Regions from separate parts of the Homo sapiens genome. Here all the other regions are linked to region 1. The links are contacts of gene promoters, found by promoter capture Hi-C in human tissues and cell types (Jung and others, 2019). All regions are on one chromosome and are shown on one strand. The core of a region is centred on a gene start or on the middle of the fragment in contact, and the rest is flanking DNA. Distances in the headings are between cores, read along the strand shown. Region 1 holds the start of CCDC71 (coiled-coil domain containing 71). Region 2 holds the start of SLC25A20 (solute carrier family 25 member 20). Region 3 overlaps DAG1 (dystroglycan 1).

What was found. The method cuts DNA at HindIII sites, captures the fragments that hold promoters and counts their contacts. A contact is called where the count stands out against the background at its distance.
Region 2: the fragment with the promoter of SLC25A20 here is called in contact with the fragment with the promoter of CCDC71 in region 1 in 1 of the 25 tissues and cell types used here (ovary).
Region 3: a contact is called between a fragment that was not itself captured here and the fragment with the promoter of CCDC71 in region 1, in 1 of the 25 tissues and cell types used here (dorsolateral prefrontal cortex).

The regions. Positions count from the first base shown.
Region 1 is chr3:49,165,003-49,167,702 of GRCh38, forward strand. It overlaps CCDC71 (coiled-coil domain containing 71), which reads right to left and starts at 1,329. Exons shown (of 2, transcript NM_022903.4): 1 at 1,265-1,329. RefSeq lists silencers at 1,091-1,150, 1,171-1,250 and enhancers at 1,401-1,470, 1,491-1,610. The HindIII fragment of the contact is 16,226 bases long and covers 1-2,700 here.
Region 2 is chr3:48,897,534-48,900,286 of GRCh38, forward strand. SLC25A20 (solute carrier family 25 member 20) reads right to left here and starts at 1,349. Exons shown (of 9, transcript NM_000387.6): 1 at 1,157-1,349. The coding sequence starts at 1,261. RefSeq lists an enhancer at 270-319 and a silencer at 900-1,089. The HindIII fragment of the contact is 14,411 bases long and covers 1-2,753 here.
Region 3 is chr3:49,482,256-49,484,955 of GRCh38, forward strand. The region is part of intron 1 of DAG1 (dystroglycan 1); the gene reads left to right. Among named protein-coding and RNA genes, the nearest start is that of DAG1, 13 kb to the left of the region's middle. The HindIII fragment of the contact is 9,505 bases long and covers 1-2,700 here.

The DNA of each region.
Region 1 (2,700 bases), core at 79-2,578:
TCCCTGCCCACCAGAAGTTCTGTTTTCAGTCTCTAGACAGGGTACTCAGCAACCCATTTTCTAGCTCCAGAGGCATGGAGACCTAATCAAGAGTCGGACTTTTCTTCAACAGAAACTAAAAAGCTGATGAGTAGCAGGTGCCAATGACATCTCTCTAGGCAACCAGGCAGACCAGGGACCAGGAAGCCAGACCAAGATCCCAAAGTTTAAGGACAATGGGAGCCAAAGGCTGCAAGTAGGATGGTGAGTCAAGGGGACATTAGCGGTATGCACTGTCCTACCTAAGACTTGGAGGGCCACAGACCTCAGTACAGCCCAGATGGAGGTGACTGAGAACACCTAACTACTCCCAGACTTCTTTAAAGAAGCTGTGGACATCAATCATAACTAACATCTAATACCCAACCCAACACTGAGGGTTCCCAGAAGCAAGAGGCAGCTCCCCAGCTGCACCAGAGCATTAAAAGATCAGCCAGGATCAGGCAGGTCCCTCGGGCCATGAGGCCCGTCTGTGTAGTTTCTTCCCACCGCTCTAATGCAGCAGATGAAGTCTTCAGAATACCCTGGAGGAAATGCCCTAGGGCTCTTTGTTTGGAAACATTCTTGGATCCTCAGGTGTCTTGGGCACTTCCCCTCCCCAGAGACCGTTCTCCAAGCACAATCCTTGCACATGACTTTAGTTCTTTATTAATGTTTTTTGAAGGGATGTAGTTCCCAGAGCTGTGAACTGTAGAAGAGAGAGGGACCTATTTCCCACCCTCACACGCGCCCCAGCGCAAATATTTGGGGTGACCTGGGGGCTCTTCCACCCAGGTTAGGCTGGGCTCTTGGGAGGGGTTTTCTGGGCTTTCGAGAAGCTTCGGAAACAGAGGCTCCTGCCCGGCCTCCGACTTCCCTTCACACGTGCCCCCGGGGAAGGCAGGAGAAGTTGACGGAAGATAGGGCGTGAGAGAGGCGCCACACAGGCAGACCGGGGGAGGGGGCAGATCGGGGCCCTCAGGCTGGGAATGCACGTCCTTAGGGCCCAAGCCGTGAGGCGGGGGTCACTGAGGCAGCGAAATGTACAGGGTGAACGGTGCTAGCCCTACCGGGACCGCACAGCCCCAGGGTGGGGTCGCTGGGCGCGGGGTGGGGGTGGGGTGGGGGGTCTCGGCCAGGCCGGCGGAGGACGCGGGTCCGGGAAGAGTTGGCCGCTTGCCCGTCCGCCCTGCCGCCTCGCGGGCCGCCCCTCCGCGGCGCGGCTAGGCCCGCGGCTCCAACCTACCGGCGCCGCCGCGGGGACCCAAGACGCGCCTCTGCGCCGCCTCCGCTGCTCCAACATGGCCGCCCGCTGCGCGCCGGAAGTGCACTGCGCTTCCGCTTCCGGGACCCAGCCCGCCCTACCGACCCTTGACCCCTGAGACCCCATTTCCCCACAAAGTCTGGGGGCGGAGCAGATTGGGTACCAAGGAGGACTGCCTGGAGGTGGTGGCCGCGGTGACTGCTCCAAACCCGTTCGGCCCTGTGCAGAAGTCTGAAGAACAGAGGTGCCCTCTGACGCGGCCCCAGGCAAGGACTCACTAGAGCCCGGCCAAGACTGGATTAGGGGTCATCTGACACCTTTTCTGAGGGGAGCTAGTGGTGCATTGACATCTGGGAGGGGCTCCTGACAAGGTTCAGGCCATCTTCCACCCTCTGATCTATCTTTAGCCACTGACAATGCCCACTTCAGTCCCAGACACCTGACCAGAGGGTGAAAGAGGAGTGCCTCCTGACAGGGAGTCTCAGGTGATCTCCTTTGTTTTGCAGTAAGGGTATCTTCTCCGAGGACAGCAGGCCTTCCTCTCTTCCTGAGAATAGGGCCTGTGGCACATGGCATGAAAGGCTGGTGTGCACGTGATCACAAGTGGTGCACGCAAGCCCAAGCGCACATGGAGTCTGGGGGCTCCAGTATACCACTGTGGGCCTGAGTATACTTGCTCAGGCAGGTGGGGGCAGGTATAGTCACTGGCCCAGCCTCAGCCCCTCAATGGAAGGAAGTCCTGCTTCCAGTCTTAACACTGCCCAGAACCCCTTTCCTTTTGCCTAGGAGTCTGGGACCTCAGTCTTTTTATCCATGCTCTTGGGCTAGTACGGGGTGGTGGTTATAGGACACAGGTCAAAATCAACCCTAGGGGTCTGTGACTTCAGTGAGAGGTCAGAGTGGTCTCCACAGCTCTGACCAAAGGTCCCATTAGTCAGAGGTTTGCAAGTCCAGGTTGGGAACCATCCTGGGAGCCCTGGTTTCATGGATGAGGTAGTGGGGGCATTTGCACTAGGGTCAGAGCCTGAGCCAGGAGGCAGAAATATTGCCACAACTCTTGGACTCTGACCCTTGCAGTGGTGCCTTATTTGGTAGTTGGGGTCAGGTGGAAGCCTATTGGCAATCACAGGAGGGTGGCGGGATGCTTCATTTAGGGACTGGGTACTAGCCCTTTTTCCTGCCCTTTTTCCAACCAGGATCCTCTGGTTGCTCTGTATTTTCCCTGCTTATACAGAGGGGTCCAGGCACTCCTAAAGACAAGTGCCTAGTCCACCCAGCAGTGCCATAGGCCTCATCTGGTGCCTCTTAGCTTCCCAGGGCCTCAGCACTAATGGTGAGGTCCTCGCTGCTTTTAAGTATAGCCAAGGTATCTAGCAGGAACTGCAAAATCTCCTGTTCCTCTGGGGTCAGTGCTTCTA
Region 2 (2,753 bases), core at 99-2,598, 270 kb before region 1:
CCAGCTAAATAAACATTTGATTTCATGTTGCACAATGACCTAGCCAGTCCAGCTACTTTAACCCTGGTCTTCCTATAGAATGACCCCAGTATGAGCTCTACTTCAGGGCAGCTCCTCTCTTGGATGAAAGGCAGCAAAGAGCTTGCTGCCCAAGCTGGCCAAGAGGAAGTGCCCACAAAACTATTTCGCTGTGGAAGAAATCTGACCCAACATCCTAACAAACCCCCTCACATGGGCTTCCAATCTTTTAAAACTCATGTCTGCTCCCCACAGGCCCACCCTGGCAATGACTTGTCAATTTCCTTCACGTCTACGTCTAGAAAAAAAGTGAGAAAACTGGATGCAGCTTCGAGTGCTAAGCCATGGGGGATGGACTTTGGTCCCCAAGCAAAGCATTAATGAAGGTGTTGCAAGGGGAATAGTTGAGATATGATATGAGGAAGACCAGAGAACAATTCCTGATGAACGTCCTCCCTCCCAAGCCTCAGTCTGACCATAGCTTCCTCATCTGGGAGTTGTGAGAATGAGGCTGGCCTTGTGCAAAGCTGATCACCTTGCTTTCCGTGGAAGGGGCTCGGTCACTGAGGTCATCATTGCTTCTCACAGGGATGCCTCTGCCCAGGAGGCTGAGCAGGCCACCGTTGGGTGACAGGCCGAAGAGTGTCAAGTATCTCCCCGGGCCGGGAAAGGTGCGAAAGAGATGGGTACTCTTGCCCCAGGGGAATGTATCAAAGGACACCTCCAGAACAACCGTACCGCTCTGTCTTTAGTTGTCTTCCTGGGGCAGGCTTTACAGGGGACCTGTTTCAACCTTAACGATAATATTAGTGTTGGCTGAAACCAAAACTATGGAGAGACGTTTATTCCTTCCCATCCCTAAAGAAGTGGCGCAGGGTCAGAAGAGACTGCGGGACAGGGAACTTTACATCAGAGCTCTTGACAGGCAGTTAGAGGCTGCTCACTTTGCGCCGCCGCCTGGCTCTTTGGGGCGCAAGGTACAGCTTCCTGCCCACCCCTGAAAGAGAGATTCCCTAGACTTCTCACGGAAGCTCACACATGCCCCTCTTCTGCCCAGCGTCCGCGCCTCGCGGGGGACCATGCTTTCCGCGCCCCGCCCGGGCCTCCTCCCCAAAGCCTGCGACCCAGCCTCCCGCACCTTGACCGTGTCCAGAGGGTGACCGACGAACACCAGGCACACGCCGCCAAAGCCGCCGGCCAGCAGGTTCTTGAGCGGGCTGATGGGTTTTGGCTGGTCGGCCATGGTCAGTCCGTCTGTCACTCCGTCTGTCAGTTCTCGGGCCGTCCTGGCTTCTCAGCCCCAGCTGCAGTGCCGGCGCCGCCGACCTTTCACCCACTTTTGGGTGGGCGGGGCACGAGCCCGGGGCAGGTCGGGAGGAGGGCCCAGTTGGCACGGTAGGGCTTCCGCCCGGGGCTGCTTCCGGCCTCGGCCCCGCTTCGATGGGCGTGGCAGAGCGCAAAGCCGCATGGGCGGGGTTTGGGAGTGTGGGCCAGCGGGCCTATTCCTCCAGGAAGCCTTCCCAGACTTCCATGTTTCCTCTGAGCTCCCATTCATCCACTCACTCCAGAGAGATCAATTGCGCCCTGCCATATGCCAGGCGTCCTTCTAGGTGCTGGAGGCACCCCTGGTAGTACAACACACAGGTCCCTGTCCTCCTGGAATTTACAGACCATAACAAAGATAAATAACTAAAAAATGCATAGTGTATCAAGTAGTAATAAGTACTACGGAGAAAAATCCAGGAAGAGAGTTAGAGGGTGTGTGGGACAAGTGATTTGCAATTTTAGTTCGTTGAATAAGGGAGGGTTTAACTGAAAAGGTGACAGGATTCAAGACCTGAGAAGATGAGAGAGGGAGTTCTGTTCACACATAACAGGGTCAAGGGTGAGGAACCTTCCACCCAGAAGAAAAAGAAAATGCAAAAGCCTTGAGATGGTCTGTGCCTGACATGTTTGAGAAACCACAGGAAGAGGGAGGGTAGTAGCTGATGAGGCGACAGAGGTTTTGGAGGCACTAGAAGACAGGTTTGGGCCTGGTGTTATGGCTCATGTCTGTAATCCCAGCTCTTTGGGAGGCCAAGGCGAGAGGATTGCTTAAACCCAGGAGTTTGAGACCAGCCTGACTTATATAGCGAGACTCTTGTCTCTAAAAAAAAAAAGTTAGGCCGGGCCCAGTGGCTCACACCTGTAATCCCAGCACTTTGGGAGGCCAAGGCAGGCATATCAACTGAGGTCAGGAGTTTGAGACCAGCCTGACCAACATGGAGAAACCCCGTCTCTACTAAAAATACAAAATTAGCGGGGCATGGTGGCGCATGCCTGTAATCCCAGCTACTTGGGAGGCTGAAGCAGGAGAATCACTTGAACTTGGGAGGCAGAGATTGCGGTGAGCCCAGATCGTGCCATTGCACTCCAGCCTGGGCAAAAAGAGCGAAACACTGTCTCTACAAAAAAAAAAAAAAAAAAAAAAAAAAAAAGTTAAAGGCCCGACGCAGTGGCTCATGCCTATAATCCCAGCACTTTGGAAGGCCAAGGCAGGTGGATCACCTGAGGTCAGGAGTTCAAGACCAGCCTGGCCAACATGGTCAAACCCCGTCTCTACTAAAAATACAAAAACTTGCCAGCCGTAATGGCAGACGCCTATGCCTGTGATCCCAGCTACTCGAGAGTCTAAGGCAGGAGAATCGCTTGAGCCCAGGAGGCGGAGCTTGCAGTGAACCGAGATCTTGCCACTG
Region 3 (2,700 bases), core at 67-2,566, 320 kb after region 1:
CCATGTGATAGTCTGAAATATAGCCTCGTGGAATGAGAAAGACCTGACCTTCCCCCAGCCCGACACCTGTAAAGGGTCTATGCTGAGGTGGATTAGTAAAAGAGGAAAGCCGCTTGCAGTTGAGATAGAGGAAGGCCACTGTCTCCTGCCTGCCCTTGGGAACTGAATGTCTCCGTGTAAAACCTGATTGTACATTTGTTCAATTCTGAGATAGGAGAAAAACTGCCCTATGGGGGGAGGCGAGACATGTTTGCAGCAATGCTGCCTTGTTATTCTTTACTCCACTGAGATGTTTGGGTGGAGAGAAACATAAATCTGGCTTATGTGTACGTCCATCCAGTCACAGTACCTTCCCTTAAACTTAATTATGACGTAGATTCTATTGCTTACATGTTTTTGTCCTTATTATGATGCAAATATTACACCATTTTATATAAGGGACTTGAGCACTTGTGGATTTTGATATCCTGGAACCAATCCCTCATGGATACCGAGGGAAGAGTTTGTAAATGTATTAAAACAAAGTAGTGGAATTGGAATCAAATTCTTTTGATTTTGTAGGTATCTGTGTTTAGCCTTTTCACTGTGCTGTGAAGATTTCCCCCCCAGGCATCCTAGGGGTTGATGGGAGATTTACTTAAGATTCCCAAGGCTGTCTAGGGCAGAAGTGAACCAGTTCTGCCTTGGTTGTCATAAACACCTCTGTTAATTAGCTCAGTTGTTCTCCAGGGATAGATTGATTCTCTAGCTAGCTTTTGCCAAGAAAAATGATCCAGTCAATAATGGAATTCCAAATAAGATTTCCTTTTTATTTGGCTATTAATCAGAACCTGGGATAACATCCATTTTCTGGGCCCTGATTTTACTATGGAATATTTCCATAAAACATGCATGTGATTACTGTAAATGTCCTGTAAACACTCCTGCTTGGGCTGGTAGGTCATCTTTTTTTTTTTTTTTTTCTTTTGAGACAGTTTTAGTCTTGTTGCCCAGGCTGGAGTGCAGTGGCGTGATCTCAGCTCACTGCAACCTCTGCCTCCCAGATTCAAGTGATTCTCCTGCCACAGCCTCCCAAGTAGCTGGAATGATACACCATGCGCCACCACACCTGGCTAATTTTTGTATTTTTAGTAGAGATGGGGATTCTTCATGTTGGTCAGGCTGGTCTCAAACTGCGACCTCAGATGATCTGCCTGCCTCGGCCTTCTAAAGTGCTGGGATTACAGGCGTGAGCCACCATGCCTGGACTGTAGGTCACCTCTGTGTCCAATCTGCCAGAGGTCAGGGATACGTTGCCGTCTAGGATTTTTTATATTGGAGACCAGTCTGATGAGTAGCCCTTGAGCAGGGACTGGATTCTAAGTCTTGGAGAAAATGAGTAAGTTCTACCTCTTATGTGAGGTATGATTGAAGAAATTGTGTTTTCTTTGTTTTTTGAGAGGCAGGGTCTTGCCCTGTTGCCTACCTGGAGTGTGGTGGCATAATCATAGCTCACTTCAGTCTTGACCTCCTAGGGTCAAGCAATCCTCCCACCTCAGCCTCCTGAGTAGCTGGGACTACTAGCACGTGCCACTATGCCCAGCTAATTTTTAAATTTTTTTGTAGCGATGTGGTCTTGGCTATGTTGCCCAGGCTGGATCCTCCTGCCTCAGCCTCCCAAAGTGTTGGGATTACAGGCGTGAGCCACCACACCCGGCCCAGAAGTGTCTTATATTTTTAGACTTTTGAGCAGTGTTGGAACGATTGAATTGCCTGAGTGGAGAAATTTGGTAGGAAGAGAGTAGAAGAGAGGCTCTTTATTAAAGACCTAAAAATAGAATTCATTAAAGTCACAAATAGATAACAGTAGGATTCCTGTCTGACTCTCTTCTGCTTTGGGTTTGTGCTACCAGCTGTTGCGTTTGCTTACCTAGAAAATAGAATAATATTTTGTCAGAAGGGTCAACAGTATGGTCCTAAAACATTGTGTTTGCAAGTCTGAGGATGTGCTTTTTCCAATTTTAAAAGTAGTTAGAAAGTGACCAGATTCTTTCATGTAGGGGAGAAATCTTAGCAGGAGACGTTGGTTCTTCTGCTTGTAGTGCCAGCCCTAACCTGACAGGTCCTGTGGGGACCCCTGTCTCTTCAGAGCCCTGAGCCTTTTTCCCTTCTAGTTGGACTTTGCTGACTAGAGAGGGATATCCTATGTAGGCCACCTGATTACCTGATTTAATCAGATGGTACCTCTGTTATTTTGGAGAAGAGAGTCTCCTTTTGATTCTAATAGCTGAAGATAAAAATGGCTCCGTATGCTTTCTTCCTGTGGAGGGCTCTGCTGCCCTGAGCTGCCTGTGCCCTTTACATCTGTGTGAGGGGGTGGAGGAATGTCCTGGCCTCCTCACTTCCATCCTGCTATGGGCTTCCAGGAAGAATGGGGTCCATTGTGGGCTGTACCCAAAGGCACAGTCCTCTGCCTCAGTGTCAGGCTTACTGTGGTCTCTGTGCCCAGTTTGCTGTGGTCACTGGGTGCCAAGGGGTTGGGAGCTCAGGAAGCCATTGCTGCTTTTTTTTTTTTTTTTGAGACGGAGTCTTGCTCTTGTCACCCAGCCTGGAGTGCAATGGCACGATCTCTGCTCACTGCAACCTCCGCCTCCCAGGTTCAAGCAATTCTCCTGCCTCAGCCTCCCGAGTAGCTGGGATTACAGATGCGCGCCACCACAT